Linked DNA regions of Homo sapiens: regions 1 and 3 are each linked to region 2. Evidence: promoter capture Hi-C in 16 types of primary human blood cells and fetal thymus (Javierre and others, 2016). All regions are on one chromosome and are shown on one strand. The core of a region is centred on a gene start or on the middle of the fragment in contact, and the rest is flanking DNA. Distances in the headings are between cores, read along the strand shown. Region 1 holds the start of DHX8 (DEAH-box helicase 8). Region 2 overlaps LINC02594 (long intergenic non-protein coding RNA 2594). Region 3 holds the start of MIR2117HG (MIR2117 host gene).

What was found. Contacts are between HindIII fragments. The CHiCAGO score rates a contact against its expected background, and 5 or more counts as called.
Region 1: the fragment with the promoter of DHX8 here is called in contact with a fragment that was not itself captured in region 2 in 4 of 17 cell types (endothelial precursors, M0 macrophages, M1 macrophages and 1 more); the score reaches 9.2 in endothelial precursors.
Region 3: the fragment with the promoter of MIR2117HG here is called in contact with a fragment that was not itself captured in region 2 in 1 of 17 cell types (endothelial precursors); the score reaches 6.9 in endothelial precursors.

The regions. Positions count from the first base shown.
Region 1 is chr17:43,482,510-43,486,014 of GRCh38, forward strand. It overlaps DHX8 (DEAH-box helicase 8), which reads left to right and starts at 1,466. Exons shown (of 23, transcript NM_004941.3): 1 at 1,466-1,676. The coding sequence starts at 1,529. RefSeq lists enhancers at 1,159-2,001, 1,301-1,730. The HindIII fragment of the contact is 15,734 bases long and covers 1-3,505 here.
Region 2 is chr17:43,682,144-43,685,742 of GRCh38, forward strand. All of the region lies in intron 3 of LINC02594 (long intergenic non-protein coding RNA 2594), which reads left to right. The region is part of intron 1 of LOC107985085 (a long non-coding RNA gene); the gene reads right to left. Among named protein-coding and RNA genes, the nearest start is that of LINC02594, 19 kb to the left of the region's middle. The HindIII fragment of the contact is 1,134 bases long and covers 1,731-2,864 here.
Region 3 is chr17:43,443,421-43,446,785 of GRCh38, forward strand. It overlaps MIR2117HG (MIR2117 host gene), which reads left to right and starts at 1,287. Exons shown (of 2, transcript NR_146952.1): 1 at 1,287-1,488. It overlaps MIR2117 (microRNA 2117), which reads left to right and starts at 1,386; the gene lies at 1,386-1,465. It also overlaps the pseudogene RNU6-406P. The HindIII fragment of the contact is 4,934 bases long and covers 1-1,595 here.

The DNA of each region.
Region 1 (3,505 bases), core at 216-2,715, 200 kb before region 2:
ACTTACAGCACAGCTGATATTTGGGGGAATAAGGTTTGTTGTTGTTTTTGTGTGTGTGTTTTGTTTGTTTGAGACGGAGTCTCACTCTGTCGCACAGGCTAGAGTGCAGTGGCGAGATCTCAGCTCACTGCAACATCCACCTCCCAGGTTCAAGCAATTCTCCCGCCTCAGCCTCCCTAGTAGCTGGGACTACAGGCACATACCATCACGCCCAGCTAATTTTTGTATTTTTAGTACAGACGAGGTTTCACCATGTTGGCCAGAGTGGTCTTGAACTCCTGACCTCAAGTGATCCGCCCGTCTCGGCCTCCCAAAGTGCTGGGATTACAGGGGTGAGCCACAGTGCCCAGCCCCTGGGGGAATAAGTTCTGAGAGGACACAGGAAAACTGGGGATTGAAAAGCAGGTTTTCACAAGAGTGGAGGCAGCTGGCTCTGTGGGTTCCCAGACTAAGGGGATCTGTGCTTGACAGACCAGAGGCCAGTTCTGTGACCATCATCTCAGCCTTGAATTTTTTTTTTTTTTTTTTTGAGACAAAGTCTCACTCTGTCGCCCATGCTGGAGTGTAGTGGTGTGAACTCAGGTCACTCCAACCTCTGCCTCCTGGGTTCAAGCGATTCTTGTGCCTCAGCCTCCCGAGTAGCTGGGACTACAGGCGCCCACCACCACCACGCCCGGCTAAGTTTTCTATTTTTAGTAGAGATGGAGTTTCGCCACGTTGGCCAGGCTGGTCTGGAACTCCTGACCTCAAGTGATCCACCAGCCTCGGCCTCCCAAAGTGCTGGCATTACAGGCGTGAGCCACTGCACCCGGCCTAGCCTTGTGATATTAACAGTAACTGTCATTTGCGGTGTGCCTACTCTGTGTCACACTCCTTGCAGTTATTCCATTTAGGGTAGAGCAACATTATTCTAGTTTACAGATGAGAAAACTAAGGCCCCAGAGATTGATTTGCCCAAGCAGCCAGCTGGCAGTGGAAGTGCCAGTTTCTTCGTGTGTAAAACAAGAGAAGGCAATCTACTGCCTACTGGCTTGTCAAGGGTCACTTGAGATCGGACGACAGGAACCACAAAGAAGTGAGGCCGGGAATTTGCGGATCCACAGTAAAGCAAGTTTGTCTTTTTCCAGACGTGCATTAAGATTCCTTTTTCAAGTGTTCTAAAGCGCAGGCGCAGGCTGTTTTGCGGTTGCCTCCCGGCGCCTCTTGTGCAGGCCGGGGTCGCCCTCTGCCGACCCAGGGCGGGAGCGCGCTGAGTGAACGTTTCCAGGCCTGAGGGCGGGCGGAGATTTTTCTCGCCTGTAGAGGGCGCAGATCGGCGTGCAGAGTAACCCACTCTAGTTGTCCCTTCCTTAAGCACTTCCTGTTTGATCTCTATGATCCATCCTGTTGGGACTTGATTCGTTCCTCAAATTTTCAATTTACCGTAAACAAAGGGGACGCGCGCTGACCCGGAAGTGAAAGCTGGAACCCGGCCGGAGTAGCTCTGAGCGCCGGCTGTGAGGAAGGAGGTTCTGGGCAAGCTATAGCCATGGCTGTGGCTGTAGCCATGGCGGGAGCCTTAATCGGGTCGGAGCCAGGCCCCGCGGAAGAACTTGCCAAACTCGAGTACCTGTCTTTGGTGTCAAAGGTTTGCACTGAGCTGGACAATCACTTGGGGATCAACGACAAGGACCTTGGTGAGCTCGGGGAGGTCCCTGGGACCTCAGTTTGGGATTGAGGGAAGCGGAAGGAGGAAGGAGGAAGGAGAAAGGTGGTTGATGGACCGAAAGTATGTTCGTGTGAATCTGTCTCTCTCTGTCGCAGACACCGGTGCCCAGGGTACACGCTGCCGTGGCCTCGGCTTGAGAGCCCTCGAGAAACTTTAGAAACTTTCCCAGAGCTGTCAGTGAAGCCCGGGGCGGTCATCTCTGCTTGATTGTTTTTTGTTTGTTTTTTCAGCCTCAATTAAACATGTTTAACAACAACAGCAGCAGATGCTGCGATGACGACGATGATGGCTGACGTTTATTGGGTGCTCACTATGTGCTAGATGCGATGCTCAGCTCTTTATTGACATTATTTTATTTGGTCTTCACGCCACTCTGTGACATAGTAGTTAGCGTCTGTGCTTTTAACTGTGTTCTTTGACCGTTCATCCTGTACTCTTTTTTGAGGCAGGGCCTCGCTCTGTTTCCCGGGCTGGAGTGCAGTGGCACGATCTCGGCTCACTGCAGCCTCCACCTCCTGGGCTCAAGCAGTCCTCCCACCTCAGCCTCCCGAGTAGCTGGGACTACAGGCGGGCGCCACCAAGCTCGACTCATTTTTAAATTTTTTGTAGAGACGGGGGTCTCACTGTATTGCCCAGGCTGGTCTCGAACTTCTGGGCTCAAGCAGTCCTCTTCCCTCGGCCTCCCAAAGTGTTGGGATTACAGGCGTGAGCCATTGCGTCCTGTACTATGTCTTAAACACCAGTCACTAGATGTTTTGGGGCAAACTACATCTGGGGAGCCGAAACTGAGGAATTAGAAAAGGCTAGGGTCCTAAAGCTAAAGCCATAGACAGATGGAGCCTTTATGAAGGTACAGAGGATGGATGGGATCAAGGGCAACCAATGGATGGATTGACCTTTGGTACGTACAGCAAGGCTTCTTCAGTTGTAACAGGAGCGAGGACAGAGAATACAGTTGCAGATTCAGATGAGTTTAGAGATTGGTGGTGGGAAGATGAGTGAGAGAGTTCCAGCCCACTCTTCAGTTTCCTAAATGAAGATAAAGTCATCAACCGGAGGGATGGAAGGGAAGGGGCAGGTGACAGGAGGGGTTAGGGAAGTTAGACGAGTGACCTTTGGTAAGATTCATAGTTTCTCTGAAGCTGTTTTTCTCATCTGTGAAGTGGGACGATGTCTTCACAGGGTCACCATATAGCATTTAGGAAGATGCCCTGCAGCCAGTATATTTTAGTTTACTTTTTTCTCTTGCCTCCCAGCCAAGATGTGTCTGTCCTATATAACTTTTCCCGCAGGATTCTTCTCTTTTAGTTGATAATGAGGTGATAATTTCGTCGGTTTTGCTATCTCGTTAATATGTTTCCTTTATTCAGCAAATATTGAGCTGGGGGCTAGGCATACCACAGAGAACAAGACAGATTTCTGCTTTCAGGGAGCTTACCTTTCTCTCTGTTTTCATTTTAACTCCTAATACCTTGGCCTTTTAGAAGAAACAAAAAAGTTATTGACATTAACCCCCAGTGTTTAATTGTTTTGATGTTAACTTCATTTGTGTACAAAAATAGAGCGAAGTATAAACTTCATAATCTTTTAGTTTATTTATAGCTAAAGATCTCAATTAATTTGCAGAAAACCCACAAATATGCTTTTTCTGTTACATACAGAATTATAAAACCAGTAACATTAAAAGTACTAACATTGGCTGGGTTTGGTGGCTCACGCCTGTAATCCCAGCACTTTGGAAGGCCAAGACAGGCCGATCCCCTGAGGTCAGGAGTTTGAGACCAGCCTGGCCAACAT
Region 2 (3,599 bases), core at 1,048-3,547:
TAAGAAAGGCACGTAGTTTAATGCTTTGCTGTCCCATCTTGATACTGTTTTTTTTTTCTTTTTTTTTTGGAAATGGAGTTTCACTATTGTCACCCAAGATAAAGTACAATGGCGTGATCTCAGCTCACTGCAATCTCTGCCTCCTGGGTTCAAGCAATTCTCCTGCTTCAGCTCCTTGAGTAGCTGGGATTACAGGCATGTACCACCACACTCAGCTAATTTTTGTATTTTTAGTAGAGACGGGGTTTCACCATGTTGGCCAGGCTGGCTGGTCTCGAACTCCTGATCGCAGGTGATCCACCCACCTCGGCCCCACAAAGTGCTGGGATTACAGGCATGAACCACCGTGCCTAGCTGATATTCTTAATTTATGAAGGAAGGGCCCCAAATTTTCATTTTGCACTGGGCCCACAAATAACGTAGCAGGTCCCACAAACAAATTCGTCTAGATTCAGAGGGCCCCTTGCCTTCCTCCTCTGCTCACATTCGTTCCTTTCTCCCATCACAGGCGGGTACCCTACCTTGGGGGATTTGCCCCAGAATAAGCCTTTTTTTTCCCTTCTAACATTTTAATGAAAAATTTCAAGTGTATAGCAATGTTGAAAAGATTTTATAGTGAGCACCCATACACCTGCCACCCAAAGTCTACCATTAATGTCTTCTGGACTTACTTTTGCCGTCTTATTCATACTCTGCCTGGACTGTCCTCAGCTACAGGACTCACATCTCTTGCCGACAGCTCTAAGGCTTCCAGTCCTGCTGTCTGGACCAAGAAAGGCTTCCTGGGCTCTGAGTGTCAAATGGCGGCCTTCAAGGAAGGGGAATGGTGGAAAAGGCCGTGGGGGGTTTTGGAGAAATTGCTAGGGAAAGACTGGCACCAGAGTTCCACCAGCCCAGGCAATGGGGGGTACAGAACCCATAAGATGAGTTCTAGAAAAGCAAGGAAGGTTTCGTTCTGGAGTTTGTGGACTGAGGTTTCCATTTGTGACTAGGATTCTCATTGGTTCCTTATGTAGTTTCTTACGCCCTGCATAGTCTTCTAAGCATTTCTCACAGACGTGGTCTGGGGGCGAACACCAGCAGCCCTGAGAGGTGGCTAAAGAGGAGATTCTTCTCTCCACTTCACATCGTAGGAAACTGAGTCTCAGAGGTTCCTTCCCTGGCCTGCCCACAACCCCAGGGCTAAAAGAGGCAGACCAAGCCCAGGGCCTTGAACCCCAACAATGGGCCTCTTTCTTTTGATCCCATGATAGGGGTGCAAAAGCATTGCATTCCCCTGGGTAATTTGAAGAAAAAACCCAAAAAACTCCAACTTTGTCTCCAGGAAAAAGAGGGTGTCTGGGCTATGATTTACCTCTGAGGGTGTGGTTGCACTGAGCGTGATCACACTTCAAAGGGTTAGATCTCATTTCTCTGCCTTTCTAGCTTGGGCCCAGGGCTCAGAAATGTGTGGACTCCCTCACAGCCCCTCCCAGCATCCCTGCCCCCTCCCAACTGCCTTGGGCAGGTGACACCTGTATTATTGCTAAGGGTTAAAAAGCCCCCAAATCAATAAAACCCATTAATGAGTGTTGGTACCTCGAAGGCTACAGATAAATCCCTTCTACTCAGTGAGTTCAATCCCATAAAACAGCTCTCCCCTTTCAATCCTAGCATTCATTTGATAGAAAATGTGGAGAAATTTTAAAAAGGTGACTTACTAATTGCCTGTAAAATAAAAGGCAGATGGAAGCTTTATTACAGTTGAAGGAAGTCGGGAATATTAAGGTAAAATGTCAAATAACAATTGATTTTCCTTAGACATAAAGGGGCGATTTATGGCTTCCTAGTTACTACAAACGAGAAATTATTTGAAGTTCTGAAAAGTATGAGGAGAAATAAAGATTAAATAGAAGATGAAATCATAGGGATTTCTCTGGGAGGTGACTTCAGTGCCCCTGGGGACTAGAATTCATGTGGCCAGTGGCCTAGCCAGCTGGGGCTTGGCAGTTTCAAGATTTAGAGGCAAGGTGTCTCTGAGGAGCGGGGAAGTGGCTGTTTGCTTTGTGTCTGAGGAACTAGGAAAGAAAGATGAAGATAGGGAAAGTTGTGGTTAGGGCCAATTTCAGACTGAGGGATGTGGGATTAGGGGATTCTTGTGGATGGGCCTATAGCTCTGCTTCCTGACTAGCAGATACTGGGGATCTGGGGAAGGGAAGGGTGAGCTGCCTTTCCTGGGACTTCGATGGCATCCTTACAGTCAGGGGACACTGTCCTTGCTGGGTCCCGGACATCAGTGTCTATGTATCCCTGCAAGCCACAGCACTATCCAGGCCCTCTGGTGGCTTTGCTTGGTCTGGGCCAACCTGGTCTCCACACTGACAGTCAAAGACGAGGAGAGGAAAAAGAACTCACGGCTAGGCGTGGTGGCTCCTGCCTGTAATTCCAGCACTTTGAGAGGCCGAGGCGGGTGGATCCCTTGAGCCCAGGAGTTTGAGACCAGCCTGGGCAACATGGCGAAATCCCCGTCTCTACAAAAAATAGAGAACAATTACCCAGGAATGGTGGTACTCTGGAGGTTGAGGTGGGAAGATGGCTTGAGCTCGGGAGGTTGAGGCTACAGTGAGCTGTGATTGTGCCACCGCACTCCAGCATGGGCGACAGAGCAAGACACTGTCTCAAAAAAAAGGCTCATTTCCAGGCTGCCAGGCTTATGTTAGCCTGGGGTCCCGCAGGAGCTGACCTGAGACAAGTACTTGAGGGCAAGTTGTTTGTTTGAGGGATGCTCACAGGAAGCTCCAGTAGGAGGGTAGGGAGGTGACCCAGGGAAGGAAGGCAGCTTACAGGGGCGTGTTGTCAGGAAGGGCACCCCGGCGGGTGACGGAAGCTTAATTTTGCTGGGAAACTCAGGAGCCAGCATGGAACCTGCACCTCAGAGTTATCCCACTGGAAGGATGAGGGAGCGGGTACTTATACACCAACTCCATCCCCGTCCTTTGTTAAGGCTGCTGGATGGAGTGGGTGGGACACTCATTCTTCAGCACTCCCAGGGGCCCTCAGGCTGTCAGAAGTTAGGTCCGTTGGGCTCCAGGATGAGGGGACCCCCAGAAGATGCGGGAGGGCGTCCGCAGCATCTGCCTCTGTGCTTTCCCTGTTTATCTGAATCCTCATAATTCCCGCCACATGCAGATCAGAGCCCCCAGCTTTATGGAAGAGAACACAGGTTTGGAGAAGATAAAGAGCATTCCCACAACTAGGAGGTGGGGAAAGCTAGGAGTTCAGCCCAGAGCTCCCTGACTTCAAAGTCCATTCTCTTTCTACTTCCTGATTTTTTTTTTTTTTTTTTTTTTTTGAGACGGAGTTTCACTCTGTTGTCTAGGCTGGGGTGCAGTGGCACAAACTTGGCTCACTGCAGTCTCTGCCTCCTGGGTTCAAGCAATTCTCCTGCCTCAGCCTCTCGAGTAGCTGGGACTACAGGCGCCCGCTACCATGCCTGGCTAATTTTTTGTGTTTTTAATAGAGACAGGGTTTCACCGTGTTGGCCAGGCTGGTCTCGAACTCCTGACCTCAGGTGATCCGCTTGCCTTGGCCTCCCAAAGTGCTGGGATTACAAGCACGAG
Region 3 (3,365 bases), core at 37-2,536, 240 kb before region 2:
TCACCTGGTGGCTAAGTGTGTCAATTCTGAAACCATACTGCCTGAGTTCCAGTGCCAACTGGAACTGCCCCCCACCCCCTACTTCTTTTTTTTTTTTTGAGACCGAGTCTTTCTCCACCACCCAGGCTGCAGTCCAGTGGCACAGTCACAGCTCACTGCAGACTCTACCTCCCGGGCTCAAGTGATTCTCCTACCTCAGCCTCTTGAATAGCTGGGACCACAGGCACCACCACCACACCTGGTTACTTTTTAAATTTTTTGTAGAGATAAGGTCTCCCTATGTTGCCCAGGCTGGACTCAAAACTCTGAGGCTCAGGTGATCCTCCTGCCTCGGCCTCCCAAAGTGCTGGGATTACAGGTGTGAGCCACCGGACCTGGCCTGGAAGCTCTTGAACATATTGCTTATCTTCTGTGGACCTCAGTTTCCTCATTTATAAAATGGGAAGAGCAATAGTAATATAACTCATACTGATAACATAAGAATATGTTATCAATAATATATGTTCCTGCACATAGCAGACATTCAATTCATGTTCAATGATTATTATTCTCTGAGATCTGACTTCCCCATTGACTGGGGTGGGGCCCTGGTGTCTACTCCCTGATAAAGACCACGTATGCCTGGATTCCTGCTCTCCCTGAGGCTTAACTTTCCTGGTTCCACCTGTAATCTCATTGAGAACTCCCATTGTTGCCTAAACTTGCTTGAGATGGTTTTTGTAATCTACAACCAGAAGTCTTAATTACTAAGACAAGGTGAAAAGACTCACCTGTAGGAAACACAGTAGATAATACAAAAGGGCTTTCAAGTTAGTGTGAGACTGCTTGGCATAGAAAGACGATAAATGCCACAGACAAAACCTAATCGTAACTGAAATAAATAAATTCGAACAACAAATTGTTAAGTGAATGGAATGCAGCTAGCTAGGATCTCATGCTCTGTTCTAAGAAAACAGACAGGTCAAACAATCAGGACCAGTCCAGACATGTGTCTGGGAAGTTAAAGGAAAGAGACCCTGTCCCTCAAAACCTTCCTTACTAGTGACTCATGTCTTCGTTTACCAGGAGGTCTTCTTTGAAAATATGAATGTTTCTGGGAAGGGTAATCCAGAAACCTACTGAGGCTCACCCTACTAGGAATGTATTTACCATTTTTCTTTTCTTTCATGTCTGTTCATTGAGAACACAGAGAATGTATTTATTCAGTGACTTTCTCTCTCCTCCACTTCCCAACCCCAGCTACAAATGGGGACAGCAAGAGAGAGAAAACCTGGGGAGAACGGAAGAAACCATGCTTTGTAGAATGGATCCTGCTTCAGAATTGCTGATCTCATCAACCACATGTTTATAGAGAGAGCAGTGGCCCTTAAGGAACTGGAGAGAATGCTCTGATTTACTTCTGTCCGGCATGGTGAACAGCAGGATTGGCTGTAGCTGTTCTCTTTGCCAAGGACAGATCTGATCTGATTGCCTTGAGGTGAAAGTGAGGTAAGGTGGGGCGGGGATTAGCTTTTGGCTCCCAAGAATGGTTGTTCATCAACCTTTTGCTAAGCCCGTGGTTCTCAAATTTTGCTGCATGTTAGAATCACCTGGGAAGCTTTAAAAAAACATCTCAGTACCCAGGTTGTACCTCAGACCAATTAAATCTGAATGCCTGGGGGCGGTTGCCAGGCATCAGAAGTTTTCAAAGACCTCCCCCAACCAGGTGGTTCCTGGACATGTACCCACGTCCGGGAACCACTGTCCTCAGCATTTATTGTATGAGGCAACTTAGGTGACACACAACAGGTGAGAACCTGGCTCCTGCCTTTCGGACACAGGACTTAATTTTTTTTTTATTTTTTAAATTATGCAGTAAAATTTTTTCTGTTGGTGTACAGGTCTATGAATTTTTTTATACTGAGTTTTTCATACTGCCTGAGTACAATTTAATGGTATACCATAAAGTATACCATAATTTTATGGTATACCGTAACATTTTACATACCATAATTTTATTTTTATAAAGTATACCCACAATTTTATGGTATACCATAAAACTAGTATAGTATACCACAAAATTTACCCTTTTAAATTATACAATTCAATGCTCACTTCAGCAGCACATATACTAAAATTGGAATGATACAAAGAAAATTAGCATGACCCTTGCTCAAAGATGACACTGTAATTTGTGAAGTGTTCCATATTTAAAAAAAAATTTTTTTTAAAGTGTACAACTCAGCCATATGCAGTGGTTCCCACCTGTAATCCCAGGGTTTTGAGGCCAGGCACGGTGGCTCACGCCTATGATCTCAACACTTTGGGAGGCCGAGGTGGGTAGATCACCTGAGGTCAGGTGTTCAAGACCAGACTGTCCAATATGGTGAAACATCATCTCTACTAAAAATACAAAAACTAGCCGGGCATGGTGGTGTGTGCTTGTAATCCCAGCTACTCGGGAGCCTGAGGCGAGAGAATCGCTTGAACCCAGGAGGCGGAGGTTGCAGTGAGCCAAGATTGTGCCACTGCTCTCCAGCCTGGGTGACAGAGCAAGACTCTGTCTCAAAAAAAAAAAAAAAGGCTGGGTGTGGTGGCTCACACCTGTAATCCCCAGTACTTTGGGAGGCCGAGGCGGGCAGATCACCTGAGGTCAGGATTTCCAGACCAGCCTGACCAACATGGTGAAACCCCATCTCTACTAAAAATACAAAATTAGCCGGGCATGGTGGCGCATGCCTGTAATCCCAGCTGCTCAGGAGGCTGAGGCAGGATAATTGCTTGAACCCGGGAGGTGGAGGTTGCGGTGAGCCAAGATCTCGCCATTGCACTTCAGCCTAGGCAAGAAGAGTGAAGCTCTGTCTCAAAAAAAACAATCCCAGGGTTTTGGGATGCCTAGGCGGAGGCTCACTTGAGGCCAGGAGTTTGAGACCAGCCTGGGCAATGCAGCGAGACCCTGTCTCTACCAATAAATGAATGAATGAATAAATAAATAAATAAATAAATAAATAAATAAATAAATAAATAAAATTAGCTGGGGATGGTGGCAAGTGCCTTTAATCCTAGCTGCTCAGGAGGCTGAGACAGGAGGATTGCTTGAGCCCAAGAGTTTGGGGTTACAGTGAGCTATGATCACGTCACTACACTCTGGCTAGGGTGACAGAGAAAGACCTTGTCTCTAAAAAAGAGAGGAAAACAAGTTACCAAATTATACAATTATCTGTTCAGACCTAGATTTACAAGAAAAAAAATGTAAAATTTCGTGTTTTTAGTATATTTGTAAAGTTGTGCCACCATCACCAGTAATTCCAGAACATTTTTATCTCGTCTCCCCAAAATACCCCGAATCCACAGTAGCTTCTCCCCATTTCCCCTTCCGCCCACCC